Regions from separate parts of the Homo sapiens genome. Here region 1 is linked to region 2. Evidence: promoter capture Hi-C in human tissues and cell types (Jung and others, 2019). All regions are on one chromosome and are shown on one strand. The core of a region is centred on a gene start or on the middle of the fragment in contact, and the rest is flanking DNA. Distances in the headings are between cores, read along the strand shown. Region 1 holds the start of CAMKK2 (calcium/calmodulin dependent protein kinase kinase 2). Region 2 holds the start of POP5 (POP5 ribonuclease P/MRP subunit).

The links. Contacts are between HindIII fragments. The study calls those that stand out against the background at their distance.
Region 1: a contact is called between the fragment with the promoter of CAMKK2 here and the fragment with the promoter of POP5 in region 2, in 1 of the 25 tissues and cell types used here (spleen).

The regions. Positions count from the first base shown.
Region 1 is chr12:121,293,550-121,298,240 of GRCh38, reverse strand. CAMKK2 (calcium/calmodulin dependent protein kinase kinase 2) reads left to right here and starts at 1,532. Exons shown (of 17, transcript NM_001270485.2): 1 at 1,532-1,603. RefSeq lists a silencer at 847-1,996. The HindIII fragment of the contact is 15,221 bases long and covers 1-4,691 here.
Region 2 is chr12:120,579,720-120,584,000 of GRCh38, reverse strand. It overlaps POP5 (POP5 ribonuclease P/MRP subunit), which reads left to right and starts at 2,599. Exons shown (of 5, transcript NM_015918.4): 1 at 2,599-2,658; 2 at 2,744-2,886; 3 at 4,078-4,227. The coding sequence starts at 2,639. The HindIII fragment of the contact is 9,700 bases long and covers 1-4,281 here.

The DNA.
Region 1 (4,691 bases), core at 283-2,782, 720 kb before region 2:
AGAGACCCTGTCTCAAAACAAACAAACAAACAAACAAACAAACAAACAAAAAAAACAAAGAAAAAAAAATGGGAGTGGGCCGGGCGCGGTGACTCACACCTGTAATCCCAGCACTTTCGGAGGCCAAGGCGGGTGGATCACGAGGTCAGGAATTCAAGATTAGCCTGGACAACATGGTGAAACCCCATCTCTACGAAAAATACAAAAATTAGCCAAGTATGGTGGCCGGCGCCTGTAATCCCAGCTACTCGGGAGACTGAGGCAGAGAACTGCTTGAACCTGGGAGGCAGAGGTTGCAGTGATCCGAGATCGCGTCACTGCACTCCAGCGTGGGCGACAGAGCGAGACTCCGTTTCAGAAAAGAAAAAAAAAAAAAAAAAAAAGGGAGTCGGGGTGGAGCTCTCATTGGCTCGTTGCATGTGAGTGTCCCTACGGCCTAGAAATACAAGAGAAGCACATCGGAACGGGCTGGAAATCCACCCAGTTAACTAGAGGGCTTTGAACCTTTTATTAACTTGGAGGTTGACTCTCCTGTCAACTCGATTCCCTTTTGGCTGTTTGGCAGGGTCAGTGAGACATCCCCTGGGTCGCTCGACCCCGTAGGACGGTTCAGGGAGCCCTCCAGGTCTTCGTTTCTCCTCTTCCCCGCACAGTGCTGTTATCCAGCTGGGGGATCCAACGCACACTTAAGGCTCCAGCAAAGTAAGTGCCAAAAAGGGGAGAATGGGAAGAATATGCTGTATTTCACAAAAAGCATCTAAGTAGCCATCTGGAAAAGCCAGAATGAACTTCAATGGTGCATCCAGGTGGGCTGGGGATGGGAGAGGAACGCCTTCCCCCAGCCTTTAGGGCCGGCCCTGAGCAAGTGGTCAGTCGGCAGGCAGCTGCGGAAGGGGGCTCCCCCGAGTCGGTGGTGGCCCAAAGTCCAGGCCGCATCCACCGCCCGGCGCCTAGCGCAGGGGCAGCAGCCGGGTCGCCACAGGAGGGGCCCCGGGTGTTCTTGCCGGCTTGGGGGAACTTTCCCAGGGTCAGCCCGGAGGCGCCCTGCAGCCCCGGCATTTGGCTAAACAAAGCAAGCGCTGCCGGCGCGGCCCGCCCGAGGGCGCCGCGGGAAGAACCTGGGCAGGTGCGCGCCGCGGGCGAGCGGGTACAAAGTTGCGGCGCCACCTCCTGCGCTCCGCGCCCCTCCAGGCTCTCCTCCCAGCCGCCTCCGATCCTCCCGGCCGGGCCTCTCTTCCCCCGTTCTTCGCCTCCTCCCTTTCTGCTCCTTGCCCTTCGCCTCTTCGCTACTTTCGTCTTTGCAGGCTCCCGCCTCCCCACCCCTCCCCGGCGCAGGGCCGAGCCGGCGGGGGCGCGCAGGGGGCGGTGCGCGGCGGGCGCGGGCGGTTCCGCTTTCGGGTTTCCCGCCGCCGTGGCCAATCCCCGCGCTGCCCGGGGCGGCGACGCGCCCAAGCCGAGCCGGGCGGCTCCTCCCGCCCCCGCCCCCCGCGCGCCCGCCGCCCGGGCGGAGGAGAGGAGCGCGCGGCCGCGCAGAGCAAGCTGAGCCGAGCCGAGCCGAGCTGGGGGCGCAGAGCGCGGGAGGCGGCGGCGGCGCGGAGCCCAGGTGAGCTGGCGGTAGCCGGGCCCGGGGCAAGGGACGCAGCCGCCGCGGCCCCGGGCGCCCGCTCCGTTTCCCTCTCGAGGCGGGGGACCGCCGCCGGCATGGCACACAAAGCCCGGAGGCTGGCCTGGGGCTCCCAACACGGAGGGACCCCACGTGCGCCTCCCCACGCCCCGCCACGTGGAGGGACACGGTCCCCGACAGCCCTTCCCCCGCGTCCTCTGGGCGCCCTGGGCCTCGGGATGGCCTCCTCGGCTGGGCCGCGCCCTGTCCGGGTGGCAGGGGCGGTCCTGGAGTTTGGAACCGGGGTCACCGGGGGCCGGGTCCGTCAGGGTTCGTGGAGGCGGCCTAGGCCCAGCCCCTCGCGTTTGACAGGTGGGGAAATCTGGAGCGTTCCGGGGAAGAGAGGACCAGCGGACTTGGAGCACCCCCACCCCGCAGCCTGCCTGTCTCGGGGCAAACCCAGGCCCTGGTGGCTTGGACACCAGGTGGCAGGACCCTAGGCCAGCAGTTGTGGGGACCTAGGGGACCTTTGGCTGTCTTCGGTCTGCCCTTTGACCACCCCCACCGCACCTCTTCTCTCAGCCGGAGCCTCACAGGCTTGGTCCTTCTGACCTAAATTCACCTCGGGGTTGCAGTATGCTGTGAATGCGGAGAGGCGTCCGCCTGACTCTCAGGGACACTGGACCCAGCCCCTCTCAGCATTGGGGCTCTGTGCCTGGGGTGCCACCCGACCCAGCCTTGAGCTTTTCCTGGCTTTCCCCCAGCCCCTGCACTGCCTAGCTGGGGAAGTGGGTGCTTTCACAGCTCTGCCAGCCTGCCCTCCTGGCCACTCTCACTTAGTGCTGGACAGGATGCAGCTCAGCCCCTCCGATCTCCCCGAGAAGGCTGAGCTTTGGGGAGGGCGTCTCAGTGCTATCAGCAAGAGAGGGATACCTGGCCTCCGGATGGGACCTGCAGCGTCCATCTCCCTACAGGCTACTTTTACCTTCCCCAGCCTGGTGTTTGGAGTCTCCACGCAGGGGATAGAAACTTCAGGTGCCCTAGAGCTGTGCTGCCATTTACCACTCCCCCTCCCCTAGCTCTGCCCCCAGAGGAGAGAGAAGAGGATGGCTTTATGTCCCCATAAGCTCCTTTGTTCCTTGGAGGAGGCGGGGGCTGCAACAAGGGGAGGGCTTTGGGGGAGTTAGCCACCCTCTTCCCTAATCACCCCACAAAAACATGCAGTTTCAGAATAAATAGTGTGCATGCCATGCAAATGCAGCTTTAGGGCAAGCCCCACATACCCCTTCCAGACTGCTGCTCATACACCCTTCCTATGGAGGAAGCAGGCATTGGTGACACACACCCTTCCTATGGAGGAAGCAGGCATTGGTGATGAGGACGCAAAACATATTTTTGTAATGAAGAGTAATAGCCATCATTTGATGAGCCCCTAACTTGGATAATAATAAGAATACTTATTTATTTATTTTGAGACGGAGTCTCTGTTGCCCAGGGTGGAGTGCAGTGGCACAATCTTGGCTCACTGCAACCTCCGCCTCCCGGGTTCAAGCGATTCTCATGCCTCAGCCTCTCCAGTAGCTGGGATTACAGGCGCCCACCACCATGCCTGGCTAATTTCTGTATTTTTAGTAGAGAAGGGGTTTCACCATGTTGGTCAGGCTGGTCTTGAACTCCTTACCTCAAGTGATCCGCCTACGTCAGTCTCCCAAGTGCTAGGATTACAGGCATGAGCTGCCACCTGGCCCTGGACAATAATAATAATAACAGTATTAAAAACTAACATCTATTGAGTTCTTGCTGCCTGCCAGATTCTGTGCTATGTGTTACATGCATTATCTCATTTAATGCCTACCAAATCCTACAACGTAGGGAATTTTAACCCCATAGTAGAGATTAGGAGACTGAGGTTTACAGAAATCCTGCAGTGTTGCTAGGATTTAGCCCCATTTTATAGAAGGGCTCAGAGAAGTTAAGTAACTTGCTCAGGGTCACACAGCCAGTGCAGGCATGTCAGGCCTTAGAACCTTTGTGCACCTGTTCAAGAGCAGAGACCCTGGCAAGGCTGCCCTGAGCTTCTTGAGGAGCCCAGGAGTTTGTTTTGTTTTGTTTATTCACTACATCAGTGTTTGCCGATGCAGCTCTATGCAGGGTCTGTAGTACTGCCCATCCTTAGATATGGCTAGTGGGCTGGTAGCTAAATATAGTCACTAATAACAATGCACTAGTTCTCATCCGGGGGTGGTCCCACCCTCCTGGCAGGGATTTGGGAAAGTGTGGGGGCGACTTTTGGTTGTCAAAATGATGCTAAGCACTCCTGGCTTTTAGTGGGCGGGAGTCAGGGATGCCTACTAAAGTGTCCTGTAGGCAGGCCAGGGCCACGACATAAAGAATCACCCTCCCCTGGCTGGGCGTGGTGGCTCACGCTTGTAATCCCAGCACTTTGGGAGGCCGAGGCAGGAGGATCACCTGAGGTCAGGAGTTCGAGACCAGCCTGGCCAACATGGTGAAACCCCATCTCTACTAAAAATACAAAAATTAGCTGGGCGTGGTGGCACACACCTGTAATCCCAGCTACTTGGGAGGCTGAGGCAGGAGAATCACTTGAACCTGGAAGGCGGAGGTTGCAGTGTGCTGAGATCGTGCCATTGCACTCCAGCGTGGGGCACAAGAAGGAGACTTCCTCTCAAAAAACAAACAAAAAACAAAAAAAAATCACCCTCCCCCAAATGCCAGCAGTGCCACTGTTGAGAAACACCACAAGGAATGAGTGCTGTTGTGATCGAAGGAGCACAGGGCACTGAGGGTTCTGGAGAAATCTCCTCAGACTGGTGTGAATCTGGGAGGCTCCCTGAAGGAGGTGTCATTTGTGCAGAGCCTTGAAGGATGGGCCAGAAATGGGAGATGGGATGGGAGTAGGAGGGGAAGGGGATAGGGTGGGGTGACCTAGCAGGGAACTTTGTGCAGTAGCCGGGGGTTTCCTCTTTGAGAACCTCATCCTAGATGGAAGATGAGTGGCCAGACACCACTCTCAGGGGAGAGGACCAGGCCAAGTGGGGCAGGCCAAGCCTGTTTTCAAGGCATTTTG
Region 2 (4,281 bases), core at 1,350-3,849:
ACTTCATATCCACCCACGAGGGAGGAACCATTGTTATCCCATTGCACAGATGAGGAAACTAAGATCTGAGACATGAATTAACCCTCCTGACAGCACCTGGCCGGGCCAGTAAATGACGGAGTAGCGAATCGAACCTCCATCTGTCGTCTCTCCATCTTATTACACTAAATGGACGAGTGAAATCCTGCACGGGAGAGCACCAACCGTGTTGACCAGAACAAGGAGTCAGCTGGCTTTGGGTTCGAATTCTGATCCTGCTCCTAACTGGATACGAGGCTTTGGTCTGAGCCCCAACTGCATCTATAAAATGGGCGAAGCATTGCTGTTGAAATGAAGGCTGGGAGGAGTGAAATTTCTATGAGGGGTGGAGCGCTCAGGAGTTGGGGGTGTCTTGCTCTCTCCGCGCACTGCGGACCTCTGGCGCCCCCTGTTGGCCAAAGGAGGATGTCGCAGACACTTTCTGGTGAAAAGTTGTTCTTGGGTGGGGAGTGCCGTCACTGTCACTGGTCCCTTGGCAGGGCCACGGCGTTCCCTCTTCCTATTCTTTTCTTCCCTACCTTCCCCCACATCCCTCCTTTAAGGTGGCCAAGAAGAGTGGGAGATGGGAAAATTCAGAACTCATTCCAGATCTTGCAAAAATAGGTTGTGAAAGCTGCCCCCATTACGGACCTCACAGGACCAGCCAAGGCCAAGACACTTCTACAAATAATCAGGGATGGGCATAAAGACTAAGCTACAAAGCCATGCATCAAAGTATTGGGTATAACAAGAAAATCTAGAAATAATGTAAACGTCTACCAAAGGGATACTGACCAACTTCACAATGGTACGTCCAAACAATGCAATACTGCACAGCTAAAAAACAGTATTGTCGCTGAAGAGCTGACATGAAAATATAGCCAAATGGCCAGGCGTGGTAGCTCACGCCTGTAATCCCAGCACTTTGGGAGGCCGAGGTGGGTGGATCACCTGAGGTCAGGAGTTCAAGACCAGCCTGGCCAACATGGGGAAACCCTGTCCCTACTAAAAATACAAAAATTAGCCAGTTGTGGTGGCACACACCTGTAGTCCCAGCTACTTGGGAGGCTGAGGCAGGAGAATCGCCTGAATCCAGGAGGCAGAGGTTGCAGTGAGCTGAGATCGTGCTCCAGCTTGGGCAACAGAGTGAGACTCCGTCTCAAAAAACTAAATAAATAAATACAAAAATTAGCTGGTCGTGGTGGCAGGTGCCTGTAATCCCAGCTACTCGGGAGGCTGAGGCAGGAGAATCGCTTGAACTCAGGAGGCAGAGGTTGCAGCCAGCCTCCTGGCTGCATTTATATAAAGTTTAAGAACAGGCAAAATTAATCTAGCAGGGTAGAAGTGGTAATAGTGGCTGATAGCAGTAAGCAATTTGACTGGAAGAGGGCTCAGGGAACCTTCTGGGATACTGGAAATGCTCTTTATTTTAATCTTGGAGGTGGTTATAGAAGTCTATCCATATGTAAAAATTCATTGAGATGAATACACTTAAGAATATGTACTTTATGTAATACCCCATAAGACATTTTTTTTAAAATACTTAAAAATAAAAGAAAAAACATAATTTAACAGAGGGCATAGTTCTCAAGCTGTTTTCTCTGTCTCAGGACCCCTTTACACACGTTACTGAGGGTGCCCAAGAGCTTTTAGTTTTGTGGGTTATATTTACTATGGACATTAAAGTTGAGAAACGTTTAAAAAACAATACACAATTCCTAGAGCAGTGACGTCATCACGTCAAGCAGCCTCTGGAAAACTTGACTGTTCACTCAGAGAGAATGAAAAAGACAAGTAACATCTTAGCATTATTATGAAAGTAATTTTGACTTCGGGGACTCCCAAATCGAGTGAATTTAGGAAATCTCAGTGGTCCCCAGACGGCACTTTGAGAACCACTGGCGCAGGGAGAAAATGACAGAAGAAAACACACTACACGACAACAGTTATTCTCTCTCAGTGCTGGGATTATAATTTATTTGCTTCTTTGTGCTTTTCTGTCAAAAAAAAAAGGTAAACGGAAATGGAAAATACAATGACCACGTATTGTTTCTGCGAGCAAAAAACGAGACGGCACACTCGCCTCCCTAAGATTGCTGAAAGGCCCAAACAGCAATAGCATATTTAGCTGTATGGAAGAATTAAACTGAGCTCAAACCTGAAAATAAAAGTCCGATTTCCCGTTTGTCAATGCCTGGGCTGTGAGGTGCAGGGTCTTGCCCTCAAAAGCTCCACCGTTCACCTTGGGGAGAGAATATACTCGCATACATAACTGTGGTGCAAGGTTCCCAGGGCCCCAAGGGTAGCGGCTACATCCTACACACTATTGTAAACTTCAGTGTGCAACAGAACCATCCATTACAGCTGCAAGGCGCTCCATCCCGGGGTTCAGCCCTCAAACTAGTCAGTGACCCTCCGCAGGACGCATGCGCGCTTACAAACGCAGTTGGGCGGGGCTTGAGAGAGCTGACAGACTTCGGCCTCTCAACTTTCTAGCTCCGCCCTAATATCCTGTCTCCTTCTCTGAATGGCTGAAAGGCTGCGGAAGCAAGCTTCCCATTGGCAGCGGACAGAATTCACATCCGGTTTGCACGCCGGACCGGAGAGCGCGGAGGCAGCCATGGTGCGGTTCAAGCACAGGTAAGCATTCCCTTCCAGACCCTCCCAGTGCCTTGCTGGGTCCTCGCGGCCCCGCTAGTGTCCACCTTCCTCTCGCCTGCCGCAGGTACCTGCTCTGCGAACTGGTGTCTGACGACCCCCGCTGCCGCCTAAGCCTCGATGACCGAGTTCTGAGCAGCCTCGTACGGGACACGATCGCCAGGGTGCACGGAACTTTCGGCGCAGCCGCCTGCTCCATCGGCTTCGCGGGTGCAAGGGCGCTGGGGGAAGAGGGGAACCCGGGAGGATGGCGGGATGTGGAGGGGGCAGGCGCCGGAGGAAGAAAGAAGGGGCACGAGTGGCCAAGCCCGTGCACCGTTTTTTGTAAGGTATCTCTTTAAGCGCCTGGGACCCCAAGCGAGAGTCCGAAATTAGCAGAGCGCTAAAAGGAGGGGCCCGAAGGCAGTGGGGCTTTGAGCTAGAAGCCTCTTTTTACCTGCTTGACAGGTAATTTCTGTAATTGGTTGTGATTGAATTTGATAGGGTAGAGAATTAAATGAGGGAAGCTGTGTATACTTCCTAGTAAGAGCTATTATATGACCGATTACATTAACATCATATGGAAAAAAATTGTCAAAAGTACTCCGGGAAAGCCCTTAAATAGTTGGTAAAGTACAGAACACATGATTGTCAATATATGTAAATACAGGATGAGCTAGGACAGAGGGGCCCTTCTTTCACACCACTTAAATTAGTTCCCACTTTAACCTTGTTTGAGATTGACTTCTGGAGAGTTAAATGCAGATAGACTTAACTCTCCTAAGTCAGGTGAGACTGAGAGCTGACTGCTACAATAATTACGGAGCCCAAATGCAGTAAAACAGCCTGTTTTTCAGGCAAGGGTTTTGTGGGGGTTTTTCCTAAATTAAAACGGATCGCCTCCTACCTGCTCCTATTTATTGAATTAACTAGTGAATTAGAAAGCATTTTCAATTCTAAATTCATTCACCAGTTCTGAGTGGTGTGCAACACAGTGGGTGTTTTGGCTTTTCTCTTTTACTCGCTGATAGATCTACGTGCCACTTGCCTACAACATACTTTTGGCACATAGTAGGCTCTGTTACTCCAAAGTTTTCCTTTTTTCGAGACAGTCTGGCTGTTGCCCAGGCTGCTGGAGTGCAGCAGCGAGATCGGGGGTCATTGCTGCCTCTGCCTCCTGGGTTCAGGCGATTCTCATGCCTCAGCCTCCTGAGTGGCTGGAATTACAGGTGCGCACCACCACACCCAGCTAATTTTTGTATTTTTAGTAGAGACGGGGTTTCATCATGTTGGCCAGGCTGGCCTCGAACTCCTGACTTAAAGTGATCTGCCCGCCTCAGCCTCCCAAAGTGCTGGGATTACAGGCGTGAGCCACCACACAGAGCAAAAGTTTTCCAAAATGATTTTTCTTTCCTGTTGTAGTTCGATATCTCAATGCCTATACTGGAATAGTGCTACTTCGATGCAGAAAAGAATTCTATCAGCTTGTGTGGTCAGCTCTTCCCTTCATCACATACTTGGAGAACAAAGGACACCGTTACCCATGCTTTTTCAACACATTACATGTGGGAGGTAGGAGTGAGGTGGTATGGCTACTGATTTTCAATTGGTGACACGTTCACAGTT